Regions from separate parts of the Homo sapiens genome. Here all the other regions are linked to region 6. Evidence: promoter capture Hi-C in human tissues and cell types (Jung and others, 2019). All regions are on one chromosome and are shown on one strand. The core of a region is centred on a gene start or on the middle of the fragment in contact, and the rest is flanking DNA. Distances in the headings are between cores, read along the strand shown. Region 1 overlaps KLHL5 (kelch like family member 5). Region 2 has its middle 62 kb from the start of LINC02513. Region 3 holds the start of LINC01258 (long intergenic non-protein coding RNA 1258). Region 4 has its middle 8.0 kb from the start of KLHL5. Region 5 has its middle 19 kb from the start of WDR19. Region 6 holds the start of TLR10 (toll like receptor 10).

The links. Contacts are between HindIII fragments. The study calls those that stand out against the background at their distance.
Region 1: a fragment that was not itself captured here is called in contact with the fragment with the promoter of TLR10 in region 6 in 2 of the 25 tissues and cell types used here (dorsolateral prefrontal cortex and lymphoblastoid cells).
Region 2: a contact is called between a fragment that was not itself captured here and the fragment with the promoter of TLR10 in region 6, in 4 of the 25 tissues and cell types used here (dorsolateral prefrontal cortex, lymphoblastoid cells, small bowel and 1 more).
Region 3: a contact is called between a fragment that was not itself captured here and the fragment with the promoter of TLR10 in region 6, in 1 of the 25 tissues and cell types used here (lymphoblastoid cells).
Region 4: a fragment that was not itself captured here is called in contact with the fragment with the promoter of TLR10 in region 6 in 1 of the 25 tissues and cell types used here (lymphoblastoid cells).
Region 5: a fragment that was not itself captured here is called in contact with the fragment with the promoter of TLR10 in region 6 in 1 of the 25 tissues and cell types used here (dorsolateral prefrontal cortex).

What each region holds. Positions count from the first base shown.
Region 1 is chr4:39,101,102-39,105,053 of GRCh38, reverse strand. KLHL5 (kelch like family member 5) reads right to left here. Exons shown (of 11, transcript NM_015990.5): 7 at 1,543-1,767. LOC105374418 (a long non-coding RNA gene) reads left to right here and starts at 3,291. Exons shown (of 3, transcript XR_925235.4): 1 at 3,291-3,330. The HindIII fragment of the contact is 7,362 bases long and covers 1-3,952 here.
Region 2 is chr4:38,303,128-38,306,913 of GRCh38, reverse strand. No RefSeq gene overlaps it. Among named protein-coding and RNA genes, the nearest start is that of LINC02513, 62 kb to the left of the region's middle. The HindIII fragment of the contact is 7,017 bases long and covers 1-3,786 here.
Region 3 is chr4:38,521,885-38,525,701 of GRCh38, reverse strand. LINC01258 (long intergenic non-protein coding RNA 1258) reads left to right here and starts at 2,522. Exons shown (of 8, transcript NR_110951.1): 1 at 2,522-2,599. RefSeq lists an enhancer at 1,299-1,348. The HindIII fragment of the contact is 4,596 bases long and covers 83-3,817 here.
Region 4 is chr4:39,052,425-39,055,953 of GRCh38, reverse strand. It overlaps a transcript of KLHL5 not described here. Among named protein-coding and RNA genes, the nearest start is that of KLHL5, 8.0 kb to the left of the region's middle. The HindIII fragment of the contact is 5,541 bases long and covers 1-3,529 here.
Region 5 is chr4:39,161,640-39,165,246 of GRCh38, reverse strand. No RefSeq gene overlaps it. Among named protein-coding and RNA genes, the nearest start is that of WDR19, 19 kb to the left of the region's middle. The HindIII fragment of the contact is 5,116 bases long and covers 1-3,607 here.
Region 6 is chr4:38,780,534-38,784,365 of GRCh38, reverse strand. TLR10 (toll like receptor 10) reads left to right here and starts at 1,376. Exons shown (of 4, transcript NM_030956.4): 1 at 1,376-1,445. RefSeq lists enhancers at 2,055-2,224, 2,287-2,496. The HindIII fragment of the contact is 2,112 bases long and covers 692-2,803 here.

The sequences.
Region 1 (3,952 bases), core at 320-2,819, 320 kb before region 6:
TGGTGGCTCATGCCTGTAATCCCAGCACTTTGGGAGGCTGAGTTGGGTAGATTACGAGGTCAAGAGATCGAGACCATCCTGGACAACATGGTGAAACGTGTCTCTACTGGAAATACAAAAATTAGCTGGGCGTGGTGGCACATGCCTGTAGTCCCAGCTACTAGGGAGGCTGAGGCAGGGGAATCACTTGAACCCGGGAGGCGGAAGTTGCAGTGAGCCGAGATTGTGCCACTGCACTTCAGCCTGGCAACAGAACGAGACTCCGTCTCAAAAAAAAAAAAAAGTTTATTTCTTAAGTTCAAATTTGTAACAGTTATTTAATTATAAGGTAACTTAATAAGAACATTGCTGCTTTGAATGACACAAAAATTTTAAATTAGGGCTTAAAGAAGACAGTTTTGAGCTATGTGATCATTTTCCTTTCAACTTGCTGCAGTTCAATAAAGTCTTTTGTATGGCACCTAGAACTAATGACAGTATTCAATGCACAATGTCATCTGCACGAAACAGCTGGACTATGAGCAATCACATTCTATGTACTATATCCATAAGGATTTAGCCTGTGTTAGAATTATATTTTCTTCCCCATGGTAGGGGAGGGGAAGCACGCAGTTGACTCACTCTATTTACCCTGGATTTTATGGTCAACCCAAATTTCTAAGTCTCATTCATGCTTAACTCACATTTTCCCAGTCTGTGCCTATATAATAGTTGATTTTATGGACTCAGGAGTAATGTTTTACAAGTTTACTGTGTTAAATTTCATATAGTTAATTTTAAGCTCCTTCTCTGTGTCTTTGCCTTAACCCTCTGGTTTTATTTCCTTATCAAACTTAAAATCATCTTTCACTGAGAACTAATTACAACTAGTGGAAATCTATGTCTCTTTGATCTTTTACTGTACCCACCACCATTCCCATTTCAATCTTCATCCCTAGAGAGTTTTCATTACTCTCTATTGTTATTTGGGGGAAGCCTCTACTCTGGTGGTATTAATAAATTGAGTATTGTATAAACCATACTATCTAAACTCAACCATACCTTCACTGGTATTGATCCTTTTTTTTTTTTTTTTTTTTGAGATAGATGTTTTGCCAGGCTGGAGTACAGTGGCACAATCACAGCTCACTGCAGCCTTGACCTCCCAGGCTCAAATGATTCTCCCTCCTCAGCCTCCTGAGTAGCTGGGACTATAGGCCAAGCCACCAAATTTTTTAATTAAAAAAAAAAAATTTCCCAGCTAATTTTTAAATTTTTTGTAGAGACTTTTTTCCTATGTTGCCCAGGATGGTCTTGAACTCCTAGGCTCAAGCAATCCTCCTGCTTTGGCCTCCCAAATTGCTGGGATTATAGGCATGAGCCACTGCATCCGGCCTCATCTTTTATGATGACCTACCAAATTCTTTATTGCAGCATGTGAGGAATGCTTGGTGACTGCTGCTGACGCAGTGGCTGCCACACGGGTCCTCTGCCTGGTTCAGAATGTAAATGTGCCGTGGGAGCTATGTGATATTTTGAGTGAATCTGCATAGTTGTACTTACCAAGGCCATGTCTATGTGTGGACATAGGTGGCATCACACTCCAAGTTTTTGTTTTGGGGTTGTAGCACTCTACAGTATTCAAAGTCTTCAGTCCATCTCTTCCTCCAACCACATACAGTTTGTCATCTAGCACTGCAACACCGAACTGTAGCCTCCTCCCATTCATATTTGCTACTGGAGTCCACATATTTGTACGGAGATCATACTTTTCAATGCTTGTTGCTCCTTCATAGTAATATATAGAAGTTATGTAAATAGAAATTATACCATGATTGGTAATTTTATGAAATTACAGATACAAAAATATAATCTTATTAGCATTGAGAATAATAATTTTATTATATTTCATGAAGGTCCTGCATGATCTAGCCTCTGCCTACCTCTGTGTCCTCATCTCCTACTATTCTCCAGGGCATACACAGGCCCCAGTAAGAAAAGGTCAAATGGACAAGGATTAACTGTCAAAGGAGGGTGAGAAACAACACCCAGAAGCGGGGGAGAAAAAAGCAGAGGCGTTAAGTGTCATGGAAGCCAAAGGAAGAAAGTTTATAGCAGTAGGTCTGCTAACAGTATCCTACTGAAAGGATCAAATAAGATGAAGACTCAGAAGTATTATTGGATTTAGCCACACAGAGGTCACTGATGACTTCAGGGGGAGGTTCCTTATTGAGTGGTTGAGACGTGACTGGGAGATGAAGAAACACAGTGAGCATAGAAGATTCTTCTGAGAAGTCTGGCTATCAAAGTAAGGAGAGATAGAAATTACTAGAAGAGTTGAGGAAGGTTTTGTTTTGTTTTGCTTTGAAAATTTGAAAACTCAGAGTTTGCTTAAATGTGAATGAAAAGGATCTGGTTGAGAGGAAAGCAGCTAAAAATACAGGAGATGAAAGGGATCATAACGAACATAATGAACCATGTTCATTATGGTTCGTGGGGAGGCAGGAAAGCACAGTATCCAGGGCATAGGCAGAAGAGCTGTCTTTCACGGGAGGAGGGAACATATTCTACTGCAATAAGCAAGGGCGGGGTAAGTACGGATCGGGTACTTTGGGAACTATGACGGTAGGGAGTTCAGGAAGTTGCTGCCTGAAGGCATCTATGTTTTTCTTTTCTTTTTTTTTTTTTTTAAGAATTGGAAGATTCCAGGACTCCTTTGTTCTCTTTATGAGTTAAGATGAGCAGATGTTTAAAAAAACAAAAAAAACAAAACCCTCTAAAAAAACCTAACCCCCAATTGTGAAGAGTTCAACTAGAACCCACTTCTCTCTTCTAAGCTTCTAATACATCATGTAAGCCGCGCTAGCCTTATAGAATTATAATCTTGACTAACACTTATTCTAAAGTATTTGTTATAATTTGGTCATCAGAGCACTAGTATTATTGATAACTTCCTAAAATTTAGAAATAGTTGTGTTATACATATAGATTTTCTCGTGTTATAGTTTTTATTATTTTTTATTTACCCTACAGAATTCTAAATTATTTGGGATAGACAAGTCTTTTTCTACCTCTGCATGCATATATATATATATATGTATACATATATATGTGTGTGTATATATATGTGTGTATATATGTGTGTATATATGTATATATATATGTGTGTGTGTGTATATGTGTGTGTGTGTGTGTGTATATATATATATATATATTTTTTTTTTTTTTTGAGACAGACTGTTGCTTTATCACCCAGGCTGGAGTGCAGTGGTATGATCTCGGCTCACCACAACCTCCACCTCCCAAGTTCAAGCAATTCTTGTGCCTCAGCCTCCCAAACCGGGATTACAGGTATGTACCACCACTCCCAACTAATATTTTGTATTTTTAGTAGAAACAGGGTTTTGCTGTATTGGCCAGGCTGGTCTCGAACTCCTGGCCTCAAGTGATCCTCCCGCCTTGGCCTCCCAAAGTGCTGGGATTACAGGCATGAGCCATTTTGCCCGGCCTTTACCTCTGTATTTTTCACAGCACCAAACAGAGTCCCTTATACTTAGTACAGCTGTTGAAAAATATGTTTGAATACTTTTTCTTTATAGTTTCTAGCTATAGTGAGGTTTTTTACTCATATGCTTACATTATAATAGTAACATACATAGTAATAGTATATTTAATTACTCTAAATTTGATCTTAAAATATTATCCCTTCCATTAAATAAATCAAATCAAATTAGAAAATTCCCTCCAACAAATAAAAAGCTAATCATCTTTCTTCATGAATACATTTAGGGAATACTTTTCTTTTGAATTTTAAGTTATTTCTTTTAGATCTAGTTTACTAAGCAGTATCATATTCATATGAATTGGTAACTAAAAGTTATTTTGCTAATTTCAAACATAAAGATATTAAAACACAGTCTCAGGTAGATATATATATATATATATATAAAATCCAAATATCCAAAATTAACAA
Region 2 (3,786 bases), core at 1,213-3,712, 480 kb after region 6:
TTTATACTAAGAAGGTTCACATACTCTAATATTCACATTCTAGTTTCATTTTGACTCTAAAATTGCACAGAAACCAAATGAGCAAATCTGCATTTCCTCCTAAATCTATATGCAAACGGTGAGGCAGGGATTCCCCTTGTAGTTGGCATTCGTTAGCAGAAAGGATTCTGGACAACCTCAAGCTCAAACTGCCTTAGCACCAATCCAATCTAGCTGAATTGGACACTTCCTGTGCTTTGCCAAATTTCACAGATCTCATTGCAAGCTCACTCCTCTGTAACATATCATTGTTACTTTGCTTTCTGATCAACTCTTAATTCTCACAGTCTTCCTTGATCAAGAGAGAGGAAGTGAGAGAGGTGTGCAGTTATTGCTGCATTGATTGTCATCACTTGACAGATGGAGAAGCCAAGGTTACAAGCCACGTTTTTTTTAATCACAATGGAGCATGCCATATCTCTCCTCTGTCTCAGAAATTTGATCATAGGACACTTCATGGGGTGTTTTTTCTTTTCTTTTTAACATTTTTTGAGATGGAGTCTCACTCTGTCGCCCAGGCTGGAATGCAGTGGTGTGATCTCGGCTCGCTGCAACCTCCACCTCCTGGGTTCCAGCGATTCTCCTGCCTCAGACTCCCAAGTAGCTGGGATTATAGGAATGTGCCACCATGTCTGGCTAATTTTTGTGTTTTTAGTAGAGACAGGGTTTCACCATGTTGCCCAGGCTGGTCTCGAACTCCTGACCTCAAAGTGATCCACCTGCCTCAGCCTTCCAAAGGCTTGAGTGTTGGTATTACAGGCATGAGCCACTGCACCTGGCCCATGAGGTGTATTTTCAAGCAAACTATATGTATGAAGCTCATTTCATCACAGGGACAATGGCAGGAGAGTGTAAGAATGCGAGTACAAAGCCTTGGCTAGGCCCCACCTTCTGGTCTTGTCCCTCAGCCCTTCACTACATGCTTTCAGAAGTCTCAGCCTGAAGTCCTTTCAAAAGAGTCCCCCCACTTAAAAAATTGTGCAGAAGAGGCCAGGGGTGGTGGCTCACGCCTGTAATCCCAGCACTTTGGGAGGCCGAGGCGGGTGGATCATGAGGTCAGGAGATCAAGACCAACCTGGCTAACACGGTGAAACCCCATCTCTAATAAAAATACAAAAACCAGATTAGCTGAGTGCGGTGTCAGGTGCCTGTAGTCCCAGCTACTTGGGAGGCTGAGGCAGGAGAATGGTGTGAACCTGGGAGGCAGAGCTTGCAGTGAGCCAAGATCGTGCCACTGCACTCCAGCCTGGGTGACAGAGTGAGACTCTGTCTCAAAAAAAAAAAAAAAATTGTGCAGAACAACCAAACCGAAAGCCTGAGAACCGTGTTCCCAGGCTCCTTAAATGTAATGATGTCCCTCATACTAGTACATTTGCGTCCGGAATTGGTGGGTTCTTGGTCTCACTGACTTCAAGAATGAAGCCATGGACCCTCGCGGTGAGTGTTACAGTTCTTAAAGATGGTGTGTCCAGAGTTTGTTCATTCTGATGTTCGGACATGTTCGGAGTTTCTTCCTTCTGGTGGGTTTGTGGTCTTGCTGGCTTCAGGAGTGAAGCTGCAGACCTTCGCAGTGAGTGTTACAGCGCTTAAGGCAGCACCTCTGGAGTTGTTCATTCCTCCCGTCCAGAGTTGTTCATTCCTCCCGGTGGGTTCCTGGTCTCACTGGCCTCAGGAGTGAAGCTGCAGACCTTCGCAGTGAGTGTTACAGCTCATAAAGGCAATGCGGACCCAAAGAGTGAACAGCAGCAAGATTTATTGCAAAGAGCGAAAGAACAAAGCTTCCACAGTGTGGAAGGGGACCCGAGTGGGTTGCCACTGCTGGCTTGGGCAGCCTGCTTTTATTCTCTTATCTGGGCCTACCCACATCCTGCTGATTGGTCCATTTTACAGAGAGCTGATTGGTCTGTTTTGACAGGGTACTGATTGGTGCATTTACAATCCCTGAGCTAGACACAAAAGTTCTCCAAGTCCCCACTGGATTAGCTAGACACAGAGCACTGATGGGTGCGTTTACAAACTTTGAGCTAGACACAGGGTGCTGATTGGTGTGTTTACAAACCTTGAGCTAGACACAGAGTGCTGATTGGTGTATTTACAATCCCTTAGCTAGACATAAAGGTTCTCCAAGTCTCCACTAGACTTAGGAGCCCAGCTGGCTTCACCTACTGGATCCCACACCAGGTCCGCAGGCGGAGCTGCCCGCCAGTCCCACACCATGCGCCCGCACATTCACAGACCATCCCATCCTATTCACATTTAACCTGAGGAATGTGTTTCCTAATTACATCAAAGTTCCACAGGACAGCAAGATCAAACAGAGAATAAAAAACATAATGGAATATACAGCAGCTCCTTCTGAAGAAACTTCCTCAGTCAACACATCTCCTAAAACTTGCTCCCCTCATTCTTTTGTCAGCAGATCACTCTTTTATGAACTGAAAACCCATTGGCATTATTCATACTAACTCTAAACCACAAATTTTGGGGGATGGGTTCTCTATTGACATATAATTGACAAAATAAAAATTGTATATATTTAAGATGGACAATGTAATGTCTTGATATACATGTATATTGTGAAATGATTACCACAAGCTGATTAACATATCCATCATCTCATATAAGTTACCATTTTTTTGTATGTGGTGAGAATATTTAAGAGCTATTCTCTTAGCAAATTGCATGTATATTCTACAGTAATATTAACTATAATCACCATGCTGTATATAATATCTCTAGAACTTATTCATCCTGCATAACTGAAACCTTTTACCCTTTGCCAAACATCCCCCCATTTCCCTCCCTCTCCACCCTCCAGACCTTGGAAATCACCATTCTAATCTCTATTTTATGAATTTGACTTTTAGAATCCACATGTAATTGAGATTGATGGCAACAGTGGGCCATCTGGAGCAACCGCTGCCATCACACTGGCTGCAGCAGGGAGGTGCAGCAGGGGGCTGCATGCTCCACAGAGTGGGCAGGAGCCAGGGATAAGTGGGAGCCCCATCCCTTTCAAGTTGGGGCAGGAGTTCTCTGGGAGCCACTGCAGCCACCCAAGATATGGCTGTGAACCCAGGCATCCCTGTGCTCTCATGGTCCAGGAGCAGGCGGGAGTCCCACTCTTTCAGGTGCAGCTGCAGCCGTTCAAACTGCAGCTGCAGACCTGGACCTCCTGCTCCATGGAGCAGGCAGGAGCCCTGCCCCTGGCACAGTTGCAGCTGCCCAAATTTCAGTAGTGGACCCAGGCATCCCTGTACTCTTGGGGGCCCAGGAAGGACCCACACCCCACCTTCACAGGCTTATAAATGCCTGCTTCCACTGCCTAGCTTCTCCTTGCTGTCAGTGCCCACTGTGATCTTGGAACAAAGTTGAGACTGAGCCCAGGCACTGTCACAGCCCAGCCAGGTGTGCAAACACTCAGGGCAGTGCTGACACACCAGCCCCCTGCCACCTTGGCCCCCTCCAGGTTTGGGGGGTCTGTGAGCATAGTAAGGAAACTATAGGGGGAGCTGAGGGCAGGGAGGGCCTGAAGGCTGGGGCCAAGCTGCCAGTCCCATGGACCAGAGTGGGAACTTGTGGTGCCTTTTCCAGGACTGCCCATGGCCACCCATGGACCAGTTGGCCTGCACTTCCTCCCCTCTAAGGCCCATAAAAGCCCCAGGCTCAGCCAGAGCTGAGCAGACTTCAGGATGGCTGGCTGCAGAAAGGAGCTACCAACCCCAGGGCCTCTTCTCTGCTGAGAGC
Region 3 (3,817 bases), core at 1,131-3,630, 260 kb after region 6:
AATTTTCAGGGGTGTCTTGGGACCAGTACCATTCAGATTATTCTCCTAAACCTACTCCTGTATTTTCCATTTTCCAGAAGGCTTGGTGCTTAGGAAGCCAATTCTGAGGCTTTTTAAGGTCCTGAGTTGCCTTTGAAATGATCAAAGAGACAGTTAGACTCAATATGGTTAAGTTATAAATGCGTTTTCTGAGTTTTGATTCTTTGCAAATTAGCCATCCATGGAGGGCACGTGACATAACGGGAGCAGGTCTTGGCACAAAGGCAGGAACTGCAGCAGGGAGGTGGGTGGGCAGGGAGCGAGGGAGATGAGATGCGGGGCTCCTCTGAGCATGGGGAGTGACCTGAGGCTCTGCTCGGGCTGCAGAGGCCAGGCTGGGGAAGGAGGCCCGGTGGCCTGAGGCATAGTGGTCAAAGGACAGTGCATACTCAGGCAAAGTTAAGACCAGCATCGGCACCAATTGGCATTAGTGAGTGTAATTCAGCCATTGGGAACCAGCCAGGATACTAATCTGTGGCCCCAAGCTCAGCAGCCAGTGCAGCCAGGTGAGCTGTACAGCCCAGTGGGAGGAGAAGCTCACCCTCCTTCAGAGGAGATAGGCACCAAGGCGGGGAGAGACCATCCTAGAAGGAGGAAGAGAGATTGGGACATGGCTCCGGATTATTGAGCAGGCTGTGATGTGGGGGATGAGGACACAAGAAAAGAACCAACATTCACTGATCACCTACTCTGTGCCAAATGATTTTACATGCATCATCTCCAGTTCTTTCAACAGTCCTGTGAGGGGGTATTAGTGTCCCCACTTTACAGGTAAGGTCACAATTTGCCAGCGGTCACAGAGTAATCAGAGGCCATAGCAGAGGCAGAATCTGAGCACAAACCTTCCTGACTCTTTGCCCCCAACACAGGGTGGGCAGGAGTTCCCCAAGGGGCTCCAGGACTCCCAGGATGCACACAGTCCAACTCTGGTTGACTTTGTGCCTAAACTCTTCTTTTTTTTTTTTGAGACAGAGTTGACCTGTCACCCAGGCTGGAGTGCAGTGGCACGATCTTGGCTTACTGCAACCACCGCCTCCTGGAGTCAAGCGATTCTCCTGCCTCAGCCTTTTGAGTAGCTGGGATTACAGGCACCCGCCACCACGCCCAGCTAATTTTTGAATTTTTAGTAAGGTGAGGTATCACCATGTTGGCCAGGCTGGTCTTGAACTCCTGACCTCAAGTGATCTGCCAGCCTTGGCCTCCCAAAGTGCTGGAATTATAAGTGTAAGCCAGTGCGCCTGGCCTGTGCCTGAATTCTGAAGTCCCACCTACCATGGTGTATCCCAGGCCACTGATCTATTGCCCCACCTAGAAAAGGAGACAAGTCTGGACCCAGCCAAGCGGGTGAAACTGACAGAGGAGCTGGCGCAGGGAAAGGAAGAAGGGCTGTAGAGAGTATGTGGCAACTTGCAATTAGGTAGAAGAGTCAGTTACTCAGAATACCACATGCCGCAACCATGCCGAAATGAGTTTACTGTAATTCCAGATAAAAACAAAACTGTCGGAGCAGAGACTTAGAGACTCGAGGCAGGGTTGGCTTATTTTTTTTTCTATGGTTTCGATATAATTCAGCACTTTCACTTTGTGAAGATAGACCTGACCTTTATGTGGTCTGGAGAATGCTGACTCAACATCAGGGTAACCAATGGTGCACTCATGACCCGAAACAAGACTGGTGGTTGTCAGGGTTCTTAAAGCTCCACACTTGGGCTCTCCACGATCTCGGAAAACCGTGCCTTTATCAGAAATGACAGCCCTTGTTCAAACAGAGATCTGGATAGGTGCGCATTAATTTCAAACATTTTTTTAAAAAGATATTTTCCTGACTTTGTAAGAGGTAGAGTAGGATGCTGATTTAGCGTAGGTCTTTTTCCCATTTCCTACAGTAGTACAGATGGTGACTGAAGGGCAGATGAAAAAAGAAAAGGGGAAGGAAGGGAGGAGAAAAGAGGAAGAGGGTATGGGGGAAGAGGGATGGCCGGCAAAGGAGGCCCACTTTTACTTCCTTGGAAATATTTCGTTCATTTTGAAAACTCAAACTCAAGTTTCTCCTGGAAAAGAAAAAGGCTTGGGATCTCCCAATTGCCTATTGGTATGATTTTTATCTAGCTCCACTTTTTGATTCTTTAGGAATCAAACCGTGAACTTAATTTTTCCTCCTATTTGAAAAGCATAGGCAAAAGTCCTGCCCTCTTTTCCAAAACAAAATGCAGCATCCACCCCCGACCCCCACCACACCTCAAAGCCCCAAAGTGACATTTTCAACAGACTTATCATAAATCAAATCTGCTGTGCACACCAGTAAATAGTGCCAGTAAGCCAGGTGAACCAAATCAGATTTTTCAGCCTTGACTTCCAGTGGTGAGAACAAGGATGTGCTGACCTAGGAAAAATGACAAGTCATGGGCGCCCTGCACCGGCCCTTTCAGAAGACGTAGAACACTGCAGGGGGTGGAGTCTGGAATAAGGAGAATCTGGAATCAGTGATGACCTAGTTGTCTTGAGGGCCAGGCTGAGGAGAAGCCTGATGGGTTACGCTTCAGAATTTCATGTGCTCATGGTAGGTCCTCTGCATTTTCCCTGTCAGAGTGGATGTTGAACTCTGGTGAGGATGAAAGGGAAGGTCCCAGAAATGACCTATGCTCTTGCTGGGGAGATCCAACATCTGGCTCAAGCCTTAAGCAACAGCCCCCTTGTCCCAGTCTTGATTTTGGACTCTCCATGAAGGCAACCTATCACAGACAGCCTAGAGAAAGCATACCACAGCTCATAAAATGTTGCTAGCATTCTGCCTATTGTAAAATTATCTGTAGGAGCCAACCTGTGTTCTGGAAAGTTATGGGTATAAGACGACGTGTTATAGGTGATTTTGATTTTCTTAATTTGTTTAACAAGCTTGAATTTGAACCCCAACCATTGGATCAAAAATGTCACATTTCTGGCCAGATGTGTTGGCTCACTCCTATAATCCCAACATTTTGAAAGGCCAAGGTGGGAAGATTGCTAGAGGCCAGGAGTTCAAGACCAGCTTGGGCAACATAACAAGTCCCCGTCTCTATAAAAAAAAAAAAAAAGTCACATTTCTCAATTAACTGTGGGTCTGAGCCTTTGCTTTTAAGGGTTGAAAAATCTTATCACAATTACATTTTAGGGAAACCATTCTCTTTCATAAGGTTATAATAACACGCTCCTTGGGACTTATGTGGTGCTTAAAAAATGAGAGAGGAGGCCCTTTTTTTTTTTTTTTTTGAGACAGAATCTCGCCTGTCGCCCAGGCTGGAGTGCAGTGGTGCAATATCAGCTCACTGCAAGCTCCGCCTCCCAGATTCATGCCATTCTCCTGCCTCAGCCTCCCAAGTAGCTGGTACTACAGGTTCCTGCCACCACTCCTGGCTAATTTTTTGTATTTTTAGTAGAGATGGGGTTTCACCGTGTTAGCCAGGATGGTCTCAATCTCCTGACCTCGTGATCTGCCCACCTCAGCCTCCCAAAGTGCTGGGATTACAGGCGTGAGCCACCGTGTCCGGCTGGCCCCTTCTCCATCACTTGTGGTCATTATCCTTCTTGGTGCCTTTGGGACACCGAAATCCAGGGGATCTCCTTTCCTGGTGGCCTGATTTACTATCTGCAAGCTTTGTCACAGACATTCTTCCAGGGTTTGAGGCTGCAGCTTGCAGAATGTAACCATGATAACACCCCAATGTCTGGGAAGCCCTGTGTAAGTGGGGCAAGGATTTCAAAGAAACTCCAAGCCTCCACCCCGCTTCATAACACTGAG
Region 4 (3,529 bases), core at 168-2,667, 270 kb before region 6:
TGTAATATATACCTATAAGTATACGAGGGAAGATCAAGAGGAAAAAAATCAAGGCAAAAAAAGTAAATGGAGTAAACTTTAACCTTTAAACTAAACTATGTCCCTTTACCATATCACGTACAATGCAGGAACTGACATTAAATTTAAAAATTATAATACAGCATGACGAAGATACACACAGAATGCATATGATAAGCTAAGATATAGCAAGGCAAGCTTAGACAGCTGCAGAGGTCAAAGATTTATTTCCAGTCAACCTGGAACTCTGAGTACAGTGAAAGCCCCCTTTTCAGATGAAACCTGTAGATGGTCCACTAAAGAAAAAAGTCAATAATCATAAAAATAATAAATACATTCCTTTAAAGATGTTATTTTAACTTGAACATATACATGCACATTCATTTGTAAATCTTTTCATATAGGGTTAATGCCATATATTTGATAGGGGTCTCCTACTGAGTTTGGGTCCTTTGTCTTGCATAAGCTGTACCCACAATGATCCATCATCTATGATTTCCACTTATGGTTTCTATAAATGGAAACAGAACTTAAAAGCACTTCTGAAATAATATGAATACAGAATCCATTAGACCAGTGGTCTGTCCACCACAGGAAAAACTTGTGCCAGATTGTAAATTAATGCATCGCTTTCTTCAAGGAGAAAGTCTCACCATGAAAACAAAACATTTGCTGAACCAGTGTGCATTAGTTTGCCTAATGTAGTTAATTAATATTCTAATGTGCACTCCTTATATTCTTGAGGACCCCTAGTAGTCTGAAGACCAGGTAGCTGGTTGATGGCCTTTGACAGGCCCTGCTTTAGACTTTGATGACTTTTTCCCTAGTCTCTTAGAATTATCCAGCCTTTATCCAACTTGATAGAATTTTTAAAATAACTCATTTATATAGAGGCATCCCAAAGCATTCAACTTAATTTTCATAGGAAGAATTATCTTTTCTTTACACTTTCATCAATTTACATGTTTACTAATGTTTTATAATTACTATAACAAGTATAACTGTTAAAAACAGGTTTGTGAATAAACAGAACCAACTTCTGGTAAGTACTCAATTCAACGAGTAAGCAGAGATGTACAGGTCAGCTATGGAGCTGCCTGCTTACCCATGAGTGTTCAGTTGGCCCATGCTATCAGTAAGTACATTTTACAGCAGAAGAGTGTGCCTCAAGTTAGAGCTGTAAGTCAGTTCAGAAGCAGTTGGTGGAGAGCGCTTCTGCTGTTATTTTCCCACATTATCACTTATTAATGGTAGCCTAAGTGACACAGCAGAAAGAGCCTGAGTCAACAGCTAAGCCACTCACCAGCTAGCTGTATAATTTGGGCAAATCACTTCACCTCCTTTGTCTTCAGTTCTCTCTTCAGTAATAGGATTAAGTAAGTGGCACATCTAAGTATTGAGTAACGGTCAGGATTTATAGCAGCAGCTACTATCTCTTAAGTGCCCAAATGAGCACAATAATATATAAAATACTTTACACTGACTGGGGCATTTTGTTGTCAGAAAAACTCTGTCCAACAGGGGTCATTCCTGCCCCCAGCCCACCACTCCTTATAGATGAAGATACTGAAGTGAGATTAATTAACCTGACTTAATACCTATATCTGGTGAGTGGCAGGGTCCAGGATGGACCCTAAAAACCATATACTTTCGAATACACCACAGTGCTTCTTGCTTTCAAAGCAAGAAGTATTCTCATTCACTACTCAAAAATACCTTGTGAGGCAGGTAGAGTAGTTGTGCAAATGAGGAAGTAGATTGAGAGTATAGTTGACTTGGACAAGGTTAGATGTCTAGTAGAGAGTAGCAGAACAGACAAATTCTTTGCCGATAATATCTGACCAAACTAAAAGCAAGTAAGGCACAAAAGGCAGCGGGGAGGGGGAACAGAATACTTAAGGAACACATGATTTCTTAAATAAGAAGAAACTTAAATTAAGTTCATCGTAACTGCAGTTAAATGCCAAAATGACATTTATTCACCAAGTACAAGTGCCTCACAGATTTCTCCCTACTTAGCTCCCTCCCAATTGCTGCTGCTGTTTCTTACAAAGTACTGGCCCACAGTAACATCAAAAGAATCGTTTTATTCCACAACTACCTATCAGTACTGATACCTGGTAGTAAAGCAAGGGACATTTTAAAACTCAGCTAAATTAATATTATATAGCCTTTATTTTAAGCTCACCTGTAAAAGTTATTACAGCTGATACTACTATGATATAACAAAATCGTTACTTTTGAAAACATTCCTTCAGCTTGATGACTGGTAAAACACAAGGTTCCCTTGCTATCCACTCCTTAGATTTTTGTCAGTGTTAAGCACATATTTGCTGTGCACAAGGAAGAAAACTGTAATATCATTAAAAAAATGATGGAAAACCACTGCTAAATTCTTGCCTGATCCATTACAGTTGGCATGTGCTGAGACACCCAATTATCTTATGTGCCATAAAAAGTAACAATCTGGATAACCACAAATTTGTCTTTTACTGACTTCAACCAAATCCAGAAGTGTTTCTGTCTTTCACGTAGCTTTATGGTGATGGAGATTAAAAAAAATTTTTTCTGAAAAATAATGAATCAGTACTCTCCAGACACAAGTATAATCAATTAAAGTTGCCTGGGCTCTCTGATCACATAATGAGCCAATCACAGATCAACTTGATTCTGCTGTAGGACCAATCCAGATTTTGTAAATTATCTATTTTTGTTAGAACAGCATAAGTCAGGTAGGGAAAGGGTAGTAATGGGCAGTGAAAGCAATAAAGAGGAGAAAATGTGAAGCACTATTTCTCAACTGCTCATAATTAGAAATGGTTAATCACTACAAATGTTAATTAAACCAGTTAACCATTAAAGAAACTGCCTAGCTTGCCCTAAAACTAGACCCAAAGAAAAGCCACCAATAACCTGTTCAATAATTTAACTTCAGCAAAAAGCAAAATGAGGATGTTAGTGGTCAAATGGAGATTAGTGGAGATCAGTCGAGGCTAGAATTTCTTAGTGTTAATCATGCATTAGATTAAATCCAATGTTCTTAGGAGGCACTTCAGAGTAGTCCTCCCAAACTCCAATGGGGGGAAGGAGATGACAAATAAATTTAGGACAAACTGATTCAGGCCTCTCCAAAGAACCATGCAGAAACCAGGCCATCAATTCTAAACTCCTGCGGAGCACGGACTTGAGTATTCCTTCTTTCTGCTTATCAGAGAAATAGCTCCCCAAAGAAAGGCAAATATTAAGTAGAAATGAACCAACCAACTTCAAGTCTAAATCCTCTCTTATTCTCCATGCTATCGCCAAAGTAGCCTTCTAAAGTGCAATTCTTGACTACATCACTCTACTTAAAACATTTACTTTTGTTTGTTTTTGATCAGCTACAAGATAAATAAAAGCTAAGATCTTTAGCATGGAATTCAGGATTTTTAATGATCTAGTAGTCTTTGCCTGCCTTTCCAGGCTCACCTTCCTCTCAACTTATTTCACTTTCTCCATTATAAAAAAGAGT
Region 5 (3,607 bases), core at 703-3,202, 380 kb before region 6:
CTTCTGGATATTCCTCCAAATCCCATTTCATCTTTCCCCTGTGGCATCCACTTTATGCTCAGGGTTTTGCTACTAGAACATTGAGGTCCTTATAGATATTTTTAACATAATCATACTTTTATTTCTTTGGAATAAATTCCCATGAGTAGAATTGTTGGGCTGAGGAGTATATGTATTTTTAATTTTAATAGATTTATCAGAGTGATTTTCAAAAAGATTATAATGCTTAATGCTCCCACTAGCAACTTATGAAAGTACTTTTCCTTCACTTTCTCACCAGAAACGATCAACAATTTTCATAGGTTCTCTTAATTTTTGCTAGTCTGATAGGAATAAAGTTTCATTCTTACTTTAACTTGCATTTCCCTGAGAGCTAATGAATTTGAACACTTTTCATATGTTTGTTGGCTATTTCAATTTGTTCTTCTGCTATCTAACTTTATGGAGTTGTTTTTCTTTTTTTATTGTCAATTTGTAAGAGCTCTTTTTCATATTCTTGTGTAGTTAAACATGTCTATTTTAAAAATAGCTACTTGGTTTCTAGTCTTGGCTTTGAAGTTTTTATCTGTTTATAGGAGACTTTATTGAATGATTTTAATTTTTTTACACTTAAGTCTTTAATATAGAATTAGTTTTTACATATGGTATAAGATGCAGATCTTCTTTTATACTAAACTCAGCCCAAACTCCTCTCCAGACCTTCACCCGGGGTAGAGAGCTTGCTACCTCCTAATTGTGTTAAAATACCACATATATTTTTATTATACTCAGGAGGGGGTCCTATGGCCAGGACACCTTATATTTATTTAGTGTATCAATCCGTTTTCATGCTGCTGATATAGACATACCCGAGACTGGGAAGAAGAAGAGGTTTAATGGACTTACAGTCCCACAGGGCTGGGGAGGCCCCACAATCATGGCAGAAGGCAAGGAGGAGCAAGTCGCATCTTCAGTGGATGGCGGCAGGCAGAGAGAGAGCTTGTGCAGGGGAACCCCTCTTTATAAAACCATCAGATCGCGTGAGACTTATTCACTATCATGAAAACAGCACCAGAAAGACCCGCCCCCATGATTCAATTACCTTTCACTGGCACTGGGTCCCTCCCACGACACGTAGGAATTGTGGGAGTAACAATTCAAGATGAGATTTGGGTGAGGACACAGCCAAACCATATCAATTAATTCAGTCTCAGAAGAAATCTTTCCAGAAAGTCAAACTGATGCTCTACTTTTGGCCTAGAATTCTGGTAGAGGCAAGAATGTAAACATTCCACATTAGTCTCCTCTTTATTCTGTCTTTTTTTTTTTTTTTTTGGTTAGATTTTGTTTTTTTGTTTTCTATAAGGTCTTAGTAACTTACATAATTCCCCTACTTTCACTGACTTTATTCTATTTTTATTAACTAACCTTACATTTCTCCCTCTTCTTAATCATTTTCCTTATGATTAATATTGCCCACTCAACAATCCTTAGTCCTACCAAAGGACTTTTTTTGGAAGTCTTTTAGGAATGCTAGAACTTACTGATATACTATACCCATTGTTATCTTTTTTATTATATTATAAAATTCTACTATCTTAGTTTTTCATTTTTACTATTCACTTTTACCTCAAGTTTGATAAATATTACATAATAAATAAAAATTACATAATAATAAATTGACCATAATAATATGGTCAATTTAACATATTTTCAAGAAATTGGCTGAGACATTTTTCAAGCTTGTGAACATAATTTTTTCAACATTGCAAAAACCTAGTAACTAAACGAAGCTGGTAGATAATGACCATTGCACATTTGATCTTTAAACATGATATTAAACATCACATTTGGGTTCTTAAAAAATTTATTTTTGTGCATTGCCTTACAATACATATTTATATTTTAAGTGTTTCTATTGTAAAATGATAAGACTTGCTTAAGGACCACATGGTGTAATAGCAAATTGAACTTGGTCATGAACCTCTACTTTAAACCCAGTTCATGGAACTTACTGATTCTTTGACCTTGGGAAAATTATCTCCTCTGAACCTGTGCTCCCATGTATAAAATAGGAATAAAAATGTTTATGGAATTTAGTTTTAGAGACAATTTAATCAGTTAAAAAGAAAGAGAAAAGAAAACAAAATCCAATTATCAATGTATATTACTTTTTTTGCATATTTCCTTCTGGTTTTTGCCCCTATGTATATCTATTTTACTATGTATTTATGAATATGGTATATGTGTATATTTAACACGTTTATTTAGGTCAAATAAAAAATTTAACACATTTATTATGCTGTTCAGTATCGAGCAATAAAAAAGCATATAATCTTAAATAGATTTTTAGTTTTCTCATAACAAATAAGTCAACTTATTTGCATTTCAAATTGCAGTTCCTGGCTGATGCTGATTTTGCTGGTCCAGGGAGCACACTTTGAGGTCACTGATCCCTAGATAATTGTTTCCAAAATCCCATTCACTTTTTGTCATATGAGTTATATGAAAAACAGCATGTATTTTTTAATATTGATTGTTTATGAAGCAACAAATCTTTTCCTATTATATGCCTTCTGAAAGTCACTTTTCAGTTTATTATTTTTAAGCTGCAAGATGCATTTGATATTTTATATAATTTTATTGTCTTATATCATTTTATAATTTTAAAATTAGGGACCCTGATTACTGCCTCATTTTCTGATTTTTATTATGTATTCTGTTTTTTCTCGTTAGGCTGACAGAATAGATAAGAAGATTTCAGTAGGTAGATATAAGGGAAGGGATATTTAGAGGTAATGAGGTAGAGTGGAAAACACAGACAAACTGATCTGAACTCAGTAATAATCCTTTAATAACTTGGAAATAACTTTCTCAGCTTCACTTTTCTTGTCTATAATACAGCTAATAATATCCACTTTAGAGGGTTGTTAAAAAGATGAGATAACATATATGATGGTTGCTAGCCATGCGTGGTCTATAGTAGGCACTCAATAAGTAATAGGTGAGGTAATGTTGTTACTGTTATTAAGCAACGAGAAGTTCAAGGTTGAAATTGTTTTTTATTTCAACATTATAATTCATGTATATCGCAATAAATCTTGATAAAAATAAAGGTATAATACCCATCAAACTAATAAAAAACATTTTCTAGGTTGAAAAATGACAGATGCAATTTCTTCAAAAAAGAAAATGTATGGAGGAGAATATCCAGACAGTGATGACAGGAAGCAATAGAGATTACACAAGATCGGAGTAAAATGTTCATAATTGTTAAAGCTGGGGGATAATCACATGGGAATTTATTATACTATTGTGTCTATTCTTATGTATGCCTGAACGTTTTCATAATAAAAAGTTTCAGGCTGGGCGCAGTGGCTCACGCCTGTAATTCCAGCCCTTTGAGAGTCCAAGGCAGGAGGATTGCTTGAGCCCAGGAATTTAAAACCAGCCTGGGCAGCATAGTGAGACCCTGCCTCTACAAAAAAATTTAAAAATTAGCTGGGTGGGCTGGGTGTGGCGGCTCATGCCTGTAGTCCCAGCACATTGGAAGACCGAAGCTGGTGGATCACTTGAGCTCACAAGTTCAAGACCAGCCTAGGCAACATGACGAAACCCCATTTCTACA
Region 6 (3,832 bases), core at 127-2,626:
TAATGCAAGCGATGGGGAGCGACTGTAAATACAGATGAAGCTTCATTTGCTTACCCACCACTCACCTCCTGCTGTGTGGCTCGGTTCCTAACAGGCCATGAACTGGTACCTGTCTGTGGCCCAGGGGTTGGGGACCACTGCTCTAGATAACTCCTTTCCACCCTCTTCCTGCCTGATTGCTGAAATTATGGAGTCACCATTCCTACTCCTGCCCATCATCACATGACTGCCCCACCCAACTGATGAAAGGGATAACCGACCTGCACCTTGAAGAAAAGCATCATCAAAGAGCTCTAAGATGCTGTGGAAAACCAGTATGGTAGTTCTGCAAAAAATTAAACAGAATGGTCATACGATCCGTGAATTCCACTTCTAGGTATAGACTCAAAAGAATGTTAAGTACCAACTTAAATAGATATTTGTGCACCACGTTCACAGCAGCATTATTCACAAGAGCCAAAAGGTGAAAACTACCCAAATGTCCATTGATGGATGAATGAATGAACAAAATGTGGGACGTACATACAACAAAATAGTATTCAGCCTTAAAAAAGGAAGGAAAGATTCTATTATTCTATGTAATAATAATAGAAATGATATGGATGAACCTTAAAGACATTATGCTCAATGAAATAAGCCAGTCACAAAAAACCAAATATGGTATAACTCCACGGACATGAGGTACCTAGAGTAGTCAAATTCACACAGACAGAAAGTAGAATTATAGTTTCCAGGGTCTGAGGGAAGGGGAAAATGGGAAATTATTTTTTAATGGCATAGAATTTCAGTTTGGGATGACGAAAAATCTTTGGAGATGGGCAGTGGTGGTGGTTGCACAACAGTGTGAATGTACTTAATTAATGCCACTAAATTGTACATTTAAAAATGCTTAAGGTCAGGCGCGGTGGCTCACACCGTAATCCTAGCACTTTGGGAGGCCGAGACAGGCAGATCACTTGAGCTCAGGAGTTCAAGACCAGCCTGGGCAACTGGCGAAACCCCGTCTCTACAAAAAATACAAAAAACTTAGCCAGGCCAGTTGGTGAGCGCCTGTAGTCCCAGACATTTGCGGGACTGAGAAGCCCAGCCTCTTGCGGGCTTTAGCGCAAGAGGTCAAGGCTGCAGTGAGCAGTGATCACACCACTGCACTCCAGCCTGGGTGACAAAGTGAGACCCTACCTCAAAAAAAATAAAAATAAAAATAAAAATAGAAAGATGGTGAGCATGATAACTCCTATGTTATGTGTATTTGACCACAATTTAAAAAAGTGCTAAGATTATAATGAATATATATAACATGCAATACCAGTAGCATGCAGAAGAGGGCGGATGGGGTTTAAGCTTTACAGAAAACCTCGATTCAATTCCCTCCTGCAGCCAATTCTGACCGTGTCAACGAATCATCCACGCACCTGCAGCTCTGCTGAGAGAGTGCAAGCCGTGGGGTAAGAACCTTAGCTTTGTTTGTTGTAACTCTCATTAAAAAGATATAAGGGCTGCATGGGTATTTTCTAAAAAGGAGATAATTTGAGCTAATATTGAGGGGAGGGAAGTAGGGTTATTTAGATTTTTAGTATTTACTATTTTGTCTAGATTAATGATTAGTGACCTTGGGGCTATTGATCTGAGGAATTTCTTGCAGATGCTTGAGAGCGTGGGTTTCTTTTCACTGATTGCGGATCAAACCTGGTCAGCTCTTCTATTCAGATTGAACGGTCCTATGCACTGTGGCAAGTTTTTTCTAGCTCTTATTTCCCCACAGCGTATGTTAACCTCTGCTGGATGAAACCTTTGGCTATTTAAGGCATATTTGTTGCTCCTTTACCCCGTTGAAAAGTTCTGCATTTGTGTTACCTGTTTAAAAGTAGGGGCAGATCTGATGGATCTTGTACAATGCAGTTCTTATTCCGTTTCCTTCAGAAGTGGACAAAGAGGGCCATATGTGGTTGCTGTAAAGAAGAGGATGGTTAACAACCTGTGAGCATTTGGTTTCTTGATAAGCTTTCTCCCAGACCACCTACACTGAGCTATTAATTAGGAATAGGATGCACTTCGAGTTTTATTTCAATTCTTGTGAACTTATAACTTTCCTAAGAATATATTTATACATGTAGGCAAAGTCTCTTGAACTTTGTGGCACCTAGCAGAGTGTCCCACAGCAGCTGCATGAAGCTTCATAGACAGGGGCATGGGGTGAGAAAGGAGGAAGTGGCCGCCATGGCAGCTGGTCAGATCAATGGATTCAACCTCAGTGATTCGGTCCTTAGGATGTCGTTACATCTTAAGCCACCTCATTTCAAGGTTTGAGGTGCCTTGCATTTGGGTTTAGTTACCATCCAGAAGGAACCAGACAGGTCTGGGTTCAAATCTCTGCTTCTTCAGTTGGTCATCTTGGGCAAGTTACTTTACCTCTGGGCTTTAGCTCCTCCATCTGTAAAATATGAATAATAATGGCCGCCATTTTGTTGAGTCATTGAGGGATTAAACAAGGTAATGGACATAAAACACTTAGCTCCATGTCAGACACGTAGGAAATACTGAAAAGAAGTCATTCTTACTCTTATGTTGCAAAGATCATTCAACATTCAATAGGTTCTTAATCTCTTTTCTATTTCTTTATATCATTGGGAAAAGATAAATTAGATGATTAAATATTCTTTGGTAAAACACTAGTTGTCATTTGATGATGTCTTTTGACTTGGACTTTTAAATTATAAGATATTAAAGATGTATTAAGGAAGGTCATTCTCTGTTTTTTACCTGCTTTTAACGTAGTAGTAGGGATATGATATTAACATATATATACTATTTATAGACTACATCACCAACATGGTGAAACCCCATCTCTACTAAAAATACAAAAATTAGCCGGGTGTGATGGCAGGTGCCTGTAATCCCAGCTACTCAGGAGGCTGCGGCAGGAGAATCGCTTGAACCTGGGAGGTGGAGCTTGCAGTGAGCTGAGATCATACCACTTTACTCCAGCCTGGGCAACAGAGCGAGACTCCATCTCAAAAAAAAAAAAAAGTGTATGTCCTACTTTTAAAATTGCTTTAATGAGGCCAAGCACAGTGGCTCACACCTCTAATCACACCCATTTGGGAGGCTGAGGTGGGAAGATTGCTGGAGGCCAGGAGTTTAAGAGCAGCCTTGGCAACATAGTGAGACCCTGTCTCTATGTAAAAGTTGTTTTTATAAAATGTCATAATGCATAAGTATTGCCTGAGAGATAGGACCTTTACTATTGTTATATTAAGAGAAGTTCAAAAAGAGTTCCTCTCCCATTGTAGTCCCAGATAAGACTGTGGTATTGGGCAGGGGGAAGAAGTGGGTAAGAGATAGAAACTCTGACTTCTCAGCGCAGAGTTCCAGCTAAAGCAACTGGGTTAGATTCTGCTGCATTCTTAAGGGGCCATGGCTCTAAGACCTAGAAGCTTAAAGTCAATTGCTACAAATTAAGCACTCTATGAGAGGATAACATTAAAAGCACCTTTGTCAACCTAATGATTATAACTGCCAGGGTCCTATCAAGCCATAATAGAGCCTGAGGCAAAAGAAACAATCAGCAATACTGATCCTGTCTTTATGAAAAATTTCGATATTTTGTTCAACATAGATTTTTGCATTAATTTTCATTTTTAAAAATATTTCATGTAAACATTATCTTGATTACTGAGTTCCTTGGGACCCCCTTAACATTTATGCCTTCCTTGCTTCACCCGAGTCTTGACCTGATAACTGCCACCATTTATTAAGTGTGATATGCTAGGCATGGTACTAAGTGACTTACATACATTGTCTTATGCCTCTTCACAAGCTCCATTTTACAGAT